Linked DNA regions of Homo sapiens: regions 1, 2 and 4 are each linked to region 3. Evidence: promoter capture Hi-C in human tissues and cell types (Jung and others, 2019). All regions are on one chromosome and are shown on one strand. The core of a region is centred on a gene start or on the middle of the fragment in contact, and the rest is flanking DNA. Distances in the headings are between cores, read along the strand shown.

Region 1 (3,389 bases), core at 611-3,110, 580 kb before region 3:
ACACTTGTAGCAGCCTCCCTTTTTGACTGGAAAAGAAAGCCATGGCTTGCCATTATATGCCATGGGATCCAGCTACAATTTAACAGCATTGTTTTATTTTTATTGTTACATTCTACTTATGACAATTTATATAGGTTTCCCACTTACCATGGTGATGTTAAGTTTCTTTTTAAAATTAATGTATTTTTCAGGTGACTTGATTTAAATAGGAAGATCAAATAAATAATAATTCCGGTGATATACCAATATGGCCAACACACTAAATAAACTACACAGAAACTGGAGAGTAATTAATGCCTTTCATTGGCATGTTAAAAAGAAATAAGGCTCAGCTGATTCCTCTCAGAACATGCTCTAGAAATGAACAAATGAAGCATTTAAACAACTTCTGTTAAAATCCAGCAATATTTTTAAAAACAGGCAATCTAAATCTAATTTTTTCCAGGAGATAACCCACTAAATAGGACAGCACTCGAAGATCATGAAAACATTCCAAGATCCAATTTTATCAGTTTTTTCCCTTTCTTATCCCTTATAAATGGGGTACATTAAGGTCCATAAATAGTGCTAAATCATTAAACTAAACAACAGATTTCTTTTCCTTATGAGAAAGAACCAGTTATAGTGTCGATTCTTTTCTTAGCACCAATAAATAGCTCAAGAACTAAAATAACCCCTTTTGCAAAAATGTAGGGAGTCTATTCCATTTTCTCACAGCAGCCTGCAGGTCACCCTCCTTCTGACTACCCTCCCGTACTCTCAGTAACATGAGCAAAGCTGTGATTCCTCAGCTTCTGAAGAAACAGAGGCTGCAGTGAACCCCAAGTGAGGAAAGGCATGAACTCCCTGCCCTGACCTGAAGTGATCAAAGACTTTGTCATGTCTAAACTAACCTCATTATGTAAGATTCATGAATCTCACACAGGACTTCAGACAGCAACTAACAATCAGAATCTCAAACAAAAATTCACCAGTGTGGTAGCAAACTCACAAGTACCCAAGAGCAATAAAAGTCTTGATAGATCCACGTGGACATTTAGTGAAAATATATGGTCGCAAGGTCTGTGCATCGGCATCCCCGAGTCTAATGCACCAAAGCAGCCACTGGGGAGAGCACACAGCAGCAAACTCAAAGCGCAATGATAAACACAGTGACCAATGAACAAGCCACATGCAGATGTGCCCAGACTTTGCTAAGCACTATGAAAAATAGTTAAAAATAAAAAAGAGTGTCTACTTTACAGAGTTAAAAACAAATACTAGTAATACAAAACTCTATTAACTAAGGGCAACCTAAATAGATGCAGTCAGTAACTGCCATTATTTTTCCTGTCTTGTCCTCCTAGAAGGCACTGCTCTGTTTTGGTTCTTTTTTTGGTTGGTTGTTTGTTTGTTTGAGATGGAGTCTCGCTGAGTCACCCAGGCTGGAGTGAAGTGGCCCCATCTCAGCTCACTGTAACCTCCGCCTCCCAGGTTCAAGCGATTCTCCTGCTTCAGCCTCCCGAGTAGCTGGGATTACGGGCACCCGCCACCAAGCCCAGCTAATTTCTGTATTTTTAGTAGAGATGGGGTTTCACCATGTTGGCCAGGCTGGTCTCGAACTCCAGACCTCAGGTGATCTGCTCGCCTCGGCCTCCCAAAATGCTGGGATTACAGGCCTGAGCTACCGGGCCCAGCCTGGTTGGTGTTTTCTAAGAGATGGGGGTCTCACTATACTGTCCAGGCTGGCTTCAAACTCCTGGGCTCGAGTGATCCTCCAACCTTGGTCTCCTGAGTAGCTGGGACAACAGGCATGCCCCACCACACACAGCTTAAAAGAATATAATAACCCTATCTCCTCAAGTGAAATATTGACTTATCCAACTCTTGAACAGTCTCATGTAATACAACTCTTATTTTTTAACATTCTAAGAATTTCTTCAAAAAACGTCATGTTCAGTTGAAACAAACATCTTTTTTTTTTTTTTTTTGAGATGGAGTCTCACTCTGTTGCCCAGGCTGGAGTGCAATGGCGCAATCTTGGCTCACTGCAACCTCCACCTCCTGGGTTCAAGCAATTCTCCTGCCTCAGCCTCCTCAGTAGCTGGGATTATAGTTGCCTGCCACCACGCCCAGCTAATTTTTGTATTTTAGTAGAGATGGGGTTTCACCATGTTGGCGAGGCTGGTCTTGAACTCCTGACCTCAGGTGATCCACCCACCTCGGCCTCCCAAAGTGCTGGGATTACAGGCATGAGCCACTGCGCCCAGCCAAGTTTTTTTTTTAATCTTAAAAAAGTAAAAATATTCTCTGGAATTCAAAAATTTTCGTAATTGCCACAAGTAAACACTCTAAATCTCTAACAAGGTAAGGAACGGTGATTCACACCCACCATAATCCCAGCACTTTGGAAGGCTAAGGCAGGAGAGCTGTTTGAGCCCAGGAGTTCAAAACCAGCCTGAGACAACACGAGACCCCTGTCTCTACAAAAATATAAGGCCAGGCGCAGTGGCTCACGCCTGTAATCCAAGCACTTTGGGAAGCCGAGGCAGACAGATCACTTGTGGTCAGGAGTTCAAGACCAGCCTGGCCAACATGGTGAAACCCCGTCTCTACTAAAAATACAAAAATTAGCTGGGCATAGTGGCAGGTGCCTGTAATCCCAGCTACTCAGGAGGCTAAGGCAGGAGAATCGCTTGAACCCGGGAGGTGGCGGTTGCAGTGTGCCGAGATCACGCCACTGCACTCTAGCCTGGGGGAGAGAGCAAGACTCTGCCTCCAAAAAATAAATAAATAAATAAATAAGCCAGGCATGTTGGTGCACACCTGTAATCCCAGCTACTCAGGAGGCTGATGCAGGAGGACTACTTGAGCCCAGGAGGTTGAGGATGCAGTGAGCTATGGTCATGCCACTGCACTCCAGCCTGGGAGACTCTATCTCAAAAAAATTAAAATAAATCTCTAACAAGTCTACATTAGGCTGTCTCAAATCCTGTATACTTCATTCTTTACATATTCCTTGAAGTATAAGATTTTTTAAAAACACATTACCTATTCCCTAGTAAAAAAGTCCAATGTTTCTCAATAAAAGCACAGATATCTTCTTTCCACCTGAAATAACCTTGACGTCCACTTCCTTCCAGAGACAAGTTGTACATTGCCAACATGACGACCTGAAACACAATTGAAACAAGAGGTGGGAGAACAGCACGGTTAGGGATGTTAATCTTGAGGGGGGAAAAGCTTCTTCTGTTTTATATTCTGAGTAGGAATGGTGGGGAACAGAGCGAACAAAGGACGGACGGTATCTTGGAATATTCCCAGGGTAGAATTTACTTCCTTTTTTACTTTCGTTAGATTATCACTAATCCACTTAATTATGTGCAGAACTAAGCATCTAATCCTTAGGT
Region 2 (3,363 bases), core at 199-2,698, 850 kb after region 3:
TTCCCTAGGCTGAAAAGCATCCTTTCCCTCTTCAGAAGATCTCAAATGCATTATATGTAAGTAATTTAACAATGGTATAAAAAGTTTCGAAAATCAGGCAGCAAATCACACTTTCAGTTAAATATTTCTATTGGGGATATTTCCTTGAAGCCTATTTCATAGGTTTATTTTACATAATTATAATTCTAGTGAATACATAATTTCACATCTTGCCTTTTCACCTTCTATTACATCTAGAAATCTGGAGATTTCTTTGCACAAAAAGCTTTTTGTTTCATACCATTTTCTCTCACTCTTAGCTCCTCAGGGGTGCTCACGAAGAGATTAATGACATAAAAAAGCATACTTAGTATTTAAAGAAGCAAAAACCCACAAGAAGCAAGAAAGATGTCTTTAAGTAGTTTCAAGATTGCTTGTGGAGGAGGAATCTGGCTTGCTCTGAATGGGCCCACACCTCTGAGCTAAGAACAAGAGGTGGATGCCAGAGGGAGACAGAATTTCAGCTTTTAGAGAAGATAAAAAATTATCCAGGCTTCCCAAGGATAGTGAATCTCTGTTACTGGAGGTGTTCAGGTGAACTGGGAAGGACCACCTACCAGAGACACCTCTGCAGGTATCTAAGCATAGATGTAGGGCAGGAAGAAATGGCATCTCAGAGACCTGGCATTCAGCTTGTTGGGCTGATCTAGTTTTACATTGCTGTGAACAAATCATCTTAAAAATCAGTGATTCAAAATTATAATAATCATTTTATATTATCTTTCATTGTTCTGGGAGTTTTGGTTTTTTTCTTCTTCTTCTTTTTTTTTTTTTGATACAGGGCCTCCCTCTGTCACCCAGGCTAGAGCGCAGTAGCGTAATCATGGCTCACTGCAGCCTTGACCTCCTGGGATCAAAGGAAACTCCAACCTTAGCTTCCTGAGTAGCTGGGACCACAGGCACACACCATCACACCTGGCTAATTTTCTTAATTTTTTGTAGAGACGGAGTCTCATCATGTTGCCCAGGCTGGTCTCAAACACCTGGGCTCAAGCATTCTCCCCATCGGCCTCCTACAGTGCTGGGATTACAGGCATAAGCCACCACACCTGACCATAGTTCTGAAGGTTGACTGGGCTCAGCTAGGTGGTTGGTGCTCAGGATCTCTCATGTCAGACAGTGGCTGGGGTTAGGATCATCTTGACTTCCTCACTCCTATGTTTGGTATCTGAGCCATCAATATTTAAACAGATTGGAGCAGTTGAATTTCATGGGCATCTTTACTTCTGTGTGGTCTTTCTAGTATGGTGACTTTATGGTAGCAGGCTTCTTACAGGGTTAGAAACATACCTGTTCCTAGACACAGAGCTAGGCAGAAGTTGTATTGTCTTTTATGACCCAGTCTTGAAAGTCATGTAGTATCTCCTCTGCTGTCTTCTATTAATTGAGATAGTCACAAAGACCTTCCTAGGTTGAAAGGGAGGGGACGTAGATTCTAGTCTTGATGAGGGAAGTAGAACATTTCTGGAAGTTTGCGTGGGACCAGAGATATTCTTATAGCCACTTTTAGAAAATATCATCTGTTTCATGGGCTTTCTAGAGGAATGGCTTTTTCACACTTCTTCATGGGTGGGGGTCACCATGACTTTCCTCAAGGTGCCTCGAGCCTTTTGTTCCATGGATGCCTCTGATATACAGGCCATAACAGAGTCTGCAGTTTTTATGTGAAGAGAGACATTAATACATCTTATTTTCCCCACAGTCTTGCGATCAACCCAGAACTGAAGGGAAGGGGAATAAACTGGACAAGCCTGATAGTTACAGTCACAAATAGTGGAGGAAGCCAAGCACAGAGGTAGACTGCACATCCCTCTCCACTGGGGATCCCGTGAAGAAGAAAACGCCATCAGAATCCATGGACTTCTTAATCTTTAGATCGAGAAAGTATGGATTCTACATTTCTATCCATCTACATCAGTGGGGAGCTGTGTTCAACTACTAGCAACAGAGACTCATTTGCAGTGGCTGAAACTCACAAAGGATTATTATGTAAAAGACACCTGAAGATCAGCAGTTCAAGGCTGTTCCACAAAGTCTTCATGGACTGAGAGAACTTCTACTTTTCCGTTTTATTTTCTTGGTCTATTTTTCTGCTTTCATTCAAAAGGTGACTTCACAGTCCCAAATGGCTGCTGAAGTTCCAGGCAGGAAGGAAGGAGAATGGCTTTGCCCACTGTCTTTTTTTTTTTTCTTTTTTTTAGAAACAGGGTCTTGCTCTGTCACCGAGGCTGCAATAATAGCTCACTGCAGCCTTGAACTCCTGGGCTCAGGTGTTCCTCCTCAGCCTCCCAAGTAGCTAGGACTACAGGCGTATGCCACCATGTCCAGCTAATTTTTGTATTTCTTTTTCTGTTTTGTAGAGACGAGGTCTCCTTCTGTTGCCCAGGCTAGTCTCAAACTCCTGGCCTGAAGCAATCCTCTTGCCTCAGCCTCCCAAAATGTTGGGATTACAGGTGTGAGCCACTGTGCCTAGCCCCCACTCTTTTAGGTAGGCTTCAAAACTATACTTCCATCTGTATTACTTTGGCTAGAACTCAGTTACATGGGCTCACCAAGTTTAAAAAACAAAAAGGCCAGGAAATGTAGTTTCTTGGCAGGAGATGTTGCCCAAGATTTTGCTATCTGAAGGCGAAGAGTAAAAATTAATATTTGGAAGCAAGAAGCCCTCTCTGTCAAATTTACTACTTAAGAGATTTTTAAAATATTTACCCACCAAGTTACATGGATCATAAAGACCTTTCTAGTGATATATAATTTCAACATTTGTCCTTTTTAATTGCCTACAAGAAATGTGAAATTTACTTCAATATTTTGAAATCAGAGGTGGGAAGCAGATTTTGTAGAATCCATTTCTCCACCCTAAACAGTTGACAGCACACAAACCATGTTTTCAACCTCCCCTAATTTCAAAGCACAATTCACTCTCTTGACATAATCACTAAAGTTACAGCTAATGTAAGAGGTAAGAGGATGATTAGAAACTTCAAGAGGTTCTGAAACATTCAATGTAACTTGTATTTCTGATGTTAAGTGACAAAGCCAGCAATTTAGGCCATTGTCAATATTAAGATATTTGCTCAGTGTCATATACATAGCAATGTGCATGACAAAAAAATGTTTTGAAATATTTCAGTTTTCTTCATCTTACACTCAAACAGCTCAGCAAAGTTCCATTTCTTTCTTGAGGCTTTTCCCAGTGCCAATGTTCTGCCATCTCTCATTTCTTTGTACTCGGGGACTGATTCCACTGTTTGCATTTTACCCTTAGTACCAACATTTCAGAAACATTAAGCAAACGTTTAACAGTACTCCCAAACACTTCAG
Region 3 (3,344 bases), core at 584-3,083:
ATTTTGAAGCGTATTTGGAAATCGCTCATTTCTAATTTTTATTTCTCCCACTCCTCACAAGAACCAGGAAATATAACAGACCCTTCCTTCCTTGAATTTAGTTAAGCTTTAACTAAAACTAAGCATTTAACTAAAGGTAAAATGTTTGGTCTCTTATTTTCAAACAGAAAAATAAAGTCTGTATTAGCCACTCAATAAAAAAGCATAATGTCAAATCAGAAGTCTCTAGAGCAGACCCTAGTCAGCTTCAAAGCACTTTCACAGAGTGAATGGTCTTAAGCGTACCATAACTCAAAGCCCCTAGATTAAGTCTTTCAGTATAAAGTAGCATATACATTTAAAATGTTATTAAATTTCTAATAATTAGATATTAAAAAGACTCAAGATGCTGATACTTTGTAGCTTACAGCATTAAACCAAAGAAGAACCAAAAACTGAACAGTATCAAATCCCTATTACATACATATCTACAGTCATCAAGAAACTACCGGTTTATCTTTTCTTTCACTAAGGGGCCGCCTGCATGTTCACGGAAGTTGTAGTAACTTAAGAAAACCAAAACTGTTATACAGTGAAAACAGTTTGTATGCAGATAAGCTGGTACCAACTGCTTCTAGACAGATGCAATTACAGTGTAATATTTCTAGCAAAGTCTGGTAAGGCTACGCCTGCAAATCACTGACCAAAAATGGTAACAGTGTGTGCACACTAACGAAAACGACAAAATGTTCCAACTGATAGTTCAGTTGAGAATACGTTTTTAAATAGCTAATTAGAGTGACAGTGTAAAGGGGGAAAATATGTAAATTAAGCAAAATGTCCATCATATAGAATATACTAATGAGCACCTGTTTACTTTCTGGTGACTCCAGTATTTTAATGGTTTTTAAAGCTCTTAAATTTGGTTGTATCAGCATCCCAGCATCATGCCCACACCTTGCGCACCAAGTTCTGGCAGAGTCCAACTGTCTACAGGTCAGAAAAAAAATTCTAACCATACACGGACAGATCGGGCAGGGAAGGGTTAAAACAGACACTGCCAAGCTTGACAAGCACGACGAGAGTGCTGCTGGAAGCCGATTGCCAGATAAAAAGAAAAAAACAAAGGAGCTGCAAGGCCACCCCGTTCTAAATCATGCCAGGATCCTGCTCGTTAGCGATCATTCCGTGCTCTAGGACTGTTCCATAAAGGCTTTATCTTCCTTATTGAGATGGACAGACCTCAAGGGCTGGAACGCGCACAAGTCACCAAGCGCCTCAGCGCCAGCTCTGGGGAAACCCACGCCAACAAGGACGGTGGCCGGATTCCGACGCCCCCCGCCCCCCACTCCCCGGCCTCGGTGTGCAGACCCCCGGATGGATTTCACAGAGCGGGTGGGGGCGCTCGACCCCAGCCAGTTGTTGCAAGGCCGGGTCTGGAGACACCCGCAGAGGCCACGCTCAGGGCGGCGGCCTCGCCCCAGCTGGGAGCTGCGCAACAGCCGCGGATCCACCCCGGGGCGCGGGGGCCCAGCCAGGACGGCGGGAGACGGAGGCCCAGAGACCCCCCCTCACCCGCAGCCCGGACACTGCAGCCGGACCGGGTCCCTCCCCGGGCTGAGGCACGGCTCACCCCCTTAGCCCCGACTCCGCGGCGCCCCAGAGACACACTGCTCCCGGCCGCCTCGGCCCACGCCTCGGCCTCCCTCCTACTCACCATCTTCGCCGCGGCGGTCGCAGGGACGCGGGGGAGGGAGCCGGCGGGCAGCGAGTATGCAGACCGTCCTCCTCACGGCTGCGGGACCGAGAGACCCAGCGCTGAGCTGACGCGGCGGCGCGAGCTTACCCCGGGGCGGGCGCGCCTCAGGACGGAACGCGGCTGCGCACGTCACGCACCGCCTGCCGTTGCTACGCAACCAGCCGGCCAGGCAACGCCCCCCCGGCGGCTATCCAGAGTCTCGGAGGGGAGCTTCCCTCATCTGCTGAAGGCTGCGGGGCAGGGTCCGCCTCACCAGAAAGTGTTTAGGGGTGGGGGTGCGTCCTCTCTGGTCTGCAGGAGGCTAGAAGGCGGACTGGGCTGGCTCCTGCTGGCGAGGGGCGGGCAAAAGATGATGGGGGAGGGGTGGCCTTCCTTCGCCTCCTCGGCGGGGCCACCTGACGCCCCACCCACTGTGCAGGCATGGCCCGCGCGGGGAGGCAGCCACCTGGCCAGGTGTGCCTGCCGCTGGGGCGGGGCGAGGCCGTGGAGGGGAAAAGGAGGGGAGAGCCGGGGGAGAGGGGTACAGAGTGTGGGAAGGAGGGGGATTTGGAGGGGAGAGGCGAGGGGCACATAGTTGGGGGAGGAGGAGGATGGAGAGGGGAGGGAAGAGGTGAGGGAGAGGGGACAGTGTGGGGAGAGGAGGGGGATGTGGGGGGAGGGGCGAGGGGGCACTTAGTGGGGGAGGTGGGGGCAAGGGGAGAGGTGAGGGAGAGGGACACAGTGGTGGAAGGAGAGAGATGTTGGGGGTTGGGAGGGCAGGGCCCGAGGAGGGGGAACGCACTGGGGGAGGACCCACGGGAGCGGAGTCGCGGGCCGCGGCAGCGGGGACGCCTCCCGCATTTTTTACCTACTTTGGTGCGATTCCCGCCGCCCTCCCCTGATTGGCCCAGTCTGGCTTGTCCTGCCCTCGCGTGAGGGGAAAAAAGTCTGCACATTTTTCCTCCTTCCCGAGGCGACCGTGGCCATGCAGAGTGCTCTGTGAGTCACCGTTAATTTCAGGTCTGGAAAAACAAGGAGCATTTATTTATCTTTGGGAACTGCCGGGGAAGGAGGCCGGCGGCGCGCAGGGGTGTGGCTGGGAAAGGCCGCGCTGTCCCGGGACGGTGGCGCCAGCCCCGCCGCTCAGTTCTCCGGGTTTTTAATTTGGAATTGTGTTTTTCTAATGGGCGGTTGCGTCGGAAACACGGTTTTCAGAGGGCCCAGATGAATCCCAGCGTTTTTGCTGCGGGTGTTTTTGTGGGAAATAAAGGGAACAAAGAATTTTATAAATTAATTTAGGTTACCGAGAACATCATGGCCTCGACCAAAACTATTTTAATTCTCCAAATATGAGACTTTTGGACAAGATGGTCAGTATTTTTTTTTCCGGCACTACGTAAAATCTAGGTTGTATGTGGCTTTTGTTCTGCCCCACTCAACATAGGAACCCATTTCTCATTACCCTCGTTCTTTTTAAAAAAGACAGTAAGTTGTGCAGTTCTAAGCCTTTACCACCTGAGACATGATTTTTGGCGGGCTAGAGCAGTGGTTCTTTAGCATGCATCAGAATCACCTGGAAAAGTTGTTCAAAGCTAGATTTGTGTGCCCCATCCCCAAGGTTCCCTCA
Region 4 (3,525 bases), core at 447-2,946, 770 kb after region 3:
AAATGTGTGTAGTAATTTCATCACTAATCATATCAGAAAAGTCTTTAAGTGAAGAAAATGTCAAGCTCACTGTGGTGAATACACATTTCCTACAATTCTAGTTTTTGCTTGAAAGTTCGTATTTTTTCACCAAGTACCAACTGGTTTTCCTCGAAATGACACATTCATTCTGATTATTTTTTAGAAAACACCCAACACCCAAATCTGAATAACCTTACTTTATCTGTCAGTTATTTCAAGTAAAAATAGCATTCCACCAAAAAAAAAGTGATTACAACCCTCACAACCCTAACAACCAGACAAGAGTTTTTCCTCTGAATGAATGTTGTACTTTGGTGTACAGCAGAAGTGCTCTCTGCACACTTCCCATTTCATCATGCAGATAATTTAAAAGATACATATTTATGGACCAATATTTAATAAAATTAATAGCTTTTACCACTTCTTCAAGAAAATTTGTCAGTTTCACTGACAAATTTAAAACCCAGTCAAGACACCTCAACGATGAACTCTCCAAACCCTTGATTATTGTTGTATCCATTACAGTTTGGGGTAAGAACAGAACCCACCCTGCTTATTTTAAGCAGGGAAGGATTTAATACAGACATTTACAAAGTCACTGCTGAACCTAAAGGAGCACATTCTGGGCTGGGCTTCAGGAATCATCAGCTGTTGGAACATTGCAGAAGCGACCCACCAGGGAAACTACCGGCCCAGAGACCACCCCTGGAGTTCTCCCAAATTCGAGAAGCCACTGGTGTCTATGGGGCCAGAAAACTCAGTAGTCTTTTGGCAAGATGCTTCAGAATCTCCTTGTTTCCCAACAGATTCAGCCAACACGTATGCAGGAAGATGCTTTCACCTCATTCCTATGATCCAAACATCATGTGAGTCAATCTAATCACAAAGCTTAAGTTGCTTCCAGAACTCTAACGGCAAAGAAATCTGAAAAATACAGTGTTTGGCTTTCAAACCTCTCAAACTTAGAAGGAAGGTTAAACGAAGATTGAGCAAGTCAATTCATTGTTCTAGATGTACTCAACAGTAATTTTCTCACAAAAGTCAGTGGTAACAAATGGCCGATTACCACTTTTTATCCAAATGATGGAGGCTGTTTCTAGAAAATATATACAGAGATTTCTATTTTACGCTCTAACCATTGGTTTTCAGCAAACCATGCCAATTGCAGGTTGTAAACCCAGAAAGAAAGGCAGGGGAGACAGGGACTGGGCAGGTTTATCATACTCAGAGAGAATCTGACTTGTCCTGATGAGAAACCAGGACCTTTCTCCGGGCATCCCTAGGAGGGCACAATAGAGATACCACCACTATGTTCTAGTATCTCTGTTAAAGCCTCTCCTTCTGGTCCACTGAACAGTGCTTCTGTCAAGCCAGTAATTCTCAAAACTTGCTATTGTGTTAAGAATGTGGTTAAAATGCGTAGTGTCCTGAGCTTATTTTGATTTTGTATGTCCAAGAGATAATGATTCAACATACCTAAGACAGAATCTAGAATTCCTTAAAAATTTATCTTTTTAAAACATTTCTGTCTTTTTATTTATTTATGTAACAGTTTACCTCAGGACATTCAGATGTAGCTGGTTTACTGATCACAGTATGATAAACATTGTTTTAAGACATCAGGTCCTAATCTGTTCATTCAGACTTGCCAGGAGACAATTTATTAAGATGAAATAAAGTCCCTGACACCTTGTGATCAGTTAGTTGTGCCCGGAGTGGACCAACACAGCCGGAGCAACGCAGCAAGGCTGAGTGGTGGTAAATTCTTCCATCACTTTAAAGCTAAAGAAGCCATTTCCCACTGAAATCCAGCTAAAAGTCATATACTGTTCTAGTTTATCACAAAATTGTTGTTTTTGTTTTGTTTCCATTAATTCTTTTTGGTTAGATTTTATTTGGGCATATAATGTGAAACAACAATCTGCTTTCTCACCCTATGCTACTTCATTCTTGATTTGTGATGTTTCCTTTATCCTATTTTGAGCATTTTTTTTAAATTAGGGTGTCTTTTGGGACTCATTATTTTTTATTGAGCTGTTCGTCAGGGTTCCAACCAGAGAAATGCTATTCTAATCTTAATAGCTATCCAGTTTATTTTTATATTAGAAGGAGGAGCACATTATTCTCATTGTTTTGTCTCTTTAAAACTGTACTGGCTCTTTTCACTAATTGCTTCTTTTTTATTCCAGATGAGCTTGTGCAGTAAATCCATATTGATTTTTCATTCTCTTGATTTATTATTTTATATCAGGTCTAACAGACTTCTCAGGCTTTTTATTTATTCCTTCTGTCCCCTTACTTAGAATTGCTACTCATGTTATCAGATCATTGTAGGTGTGTGGTGTTATCTCTGGGTTCTCTATTCTCTTCCATTGGTCTATGTGTCTGTTTTTGTACCACTACCATGCTGTTTTGGTTACTGTAGCCCTGTAGTATAGTTTGAAGTTGGGTAGCATGATGCCTCCAGCTTTGTTCTTTTTGCTTAGGATTGTCTTGGCTATTCAGGCTCTTATTTGGTTCCGTATGAATTTTAAAATAATTTTTCCAGTTCTGTGAAGAATGTCAACAGTAAGTTTAATGGAAATAGCACAGAATCTATGAAGTGCTTTGAGAATAATGGCCATTTTCATGATATTGATTCTTTAACAATATTGATTCTTCCTATCCATGAGCATAGAATGTTTTTCCATTTGTTTGTGTCCTCTCTGATTTCTTTGAGCAGTGGTTTGTAGTTCTTCTTGTAGAGATCTTTCACTTCGCCTGTTAGCTATATTCCTTGGTGTTTTATTCTTTCTGTGGCAATTGTGAATGCGAGTTCATTTGTGATTTGGCTCTTGTCTTGACTGTTGGTGGTATAGGAATGCTAGAGATTTTTGCACATTGATTTTGTATCCTGAGACTTTGCCGGAGTTGCTTATCAGCTTAAGACACTTTTGGACTGAGACAATGGGGTCTGGGCAATACCATTCAGGACATAGGCATGGGCAAAGATTTTATGACAAAGACACCAAAAGCAAAGCAAAAATTGATAAATGGTATCTAATTAAACTAAAGAGCTTCTGCACAGCAAAAGAAACTATCAATAGAGTAAACAGACAACCTACAGAATGTAAGAAAATTTTTGCAAACTATGCATCTGACAAAGGTCTAATATCCAGCATCTATAAGGAACTTAAATTTATGAGAAACAAACAAACAACCCCATTAAACAGTGGGCAAAGGACATGAACAGACACTTTTCAAAGGAAGACATACATGCAGCCAACAAGCATATAAAAAAAGGTCAGCATCACTGGTCATTAGAGAAATGCATATCAAAACCATAGTGAGACACCATTTCACACCAGTCAGAATGGCTATTAATAAAAAGTCAAAAAATAACATGCTGGTGAGGTTGTAAAGAAAAAGGAATGCTTATATATTGTTGGAGGGAGTGTAAATTCATTCAACCATTGTGGAAGACAGTGTGGTGATTCCTCAAAAACCTAAAGACAGAAATACCAG

What was found. Contacts are between HindIII fragments. The study calls those that stand out against the background at their distance.
Region 1: a contact is called between a fragment that was not itself captured here and the fragment with the promoter of DSTN in region 3, in 1 of the 25 tissues and cell types used here (lymphoblastoid cells).
Region 2: a fragment that was not itself captured here is called in contact with the fragment with the promoter of DSTN in region 3 in 1 of the 25 tissues and cell types used here (dorsolateral prefrontal cortex).
Region 4: a contact is called between a fragment that was not itself captured here and the fragment with the promoter of DSTN in region 3, in 2 of the 25 tissues and cell types used here (heart left ventricle and mesendoderm cells).

The regions. Positions count from the first base shown.
Region 1 is chr20:18,150,584-18,153,972 of GRCh38, reverse strand. KAT14 (lysine acetyltransferase 14) reads right to left here. Exons shown (of 11, transcript NM_001392073.1): 4 at 3,031-3,152. Among named protein-coding and RNA genes, the nearest start is that of PET117, 14 kb to the right of the region's middle. The HindIII fragment of the contact is 4,437 bases long and covers 1-3,389 here.
Region 2 is chr20:16,716,709-16,720,071 of GRCh38, reverse strand. No RefSeq gene overlaps it. Among named protein-coding and RNA genes, the nearest start is that of SNRPB2, 12 kb to the left of the region's middle. The HindIII fragment of the contact is 3,736 bases long and covers 1-3,316 here.
Region 3 is chr20:17,568,564-17,571,907 of GRCh38, reverse strand. DSTN (destrin, actin depolymerizing factor) reads right to left here and starts at 1,833. Exons shown (of 4, transcript NM_006870.4): 1 at 1,697-1,833. The coding sequence starts at 1,699. It also overlaps a transcript of BFSP1 not described here. RefSeq lists silencers at 1,393-1,682, 1,703-1,892 and an enhancer at 2,303-2,870. The HindIII fragment of the contact is 11,187 bases long and covers 576-3,344 here.
Region 4 is chr20:16,797,551-16,801,075 of GRCh38, reverse strand. No RefSeq gene overlaps it. Among named protein-coding and RNA genes, the nearest start is that of OTOR, 51 kb to the right of the region's middle. The HindIII fragment of the contact is 3,462 bases long and covers 1-3,427 here.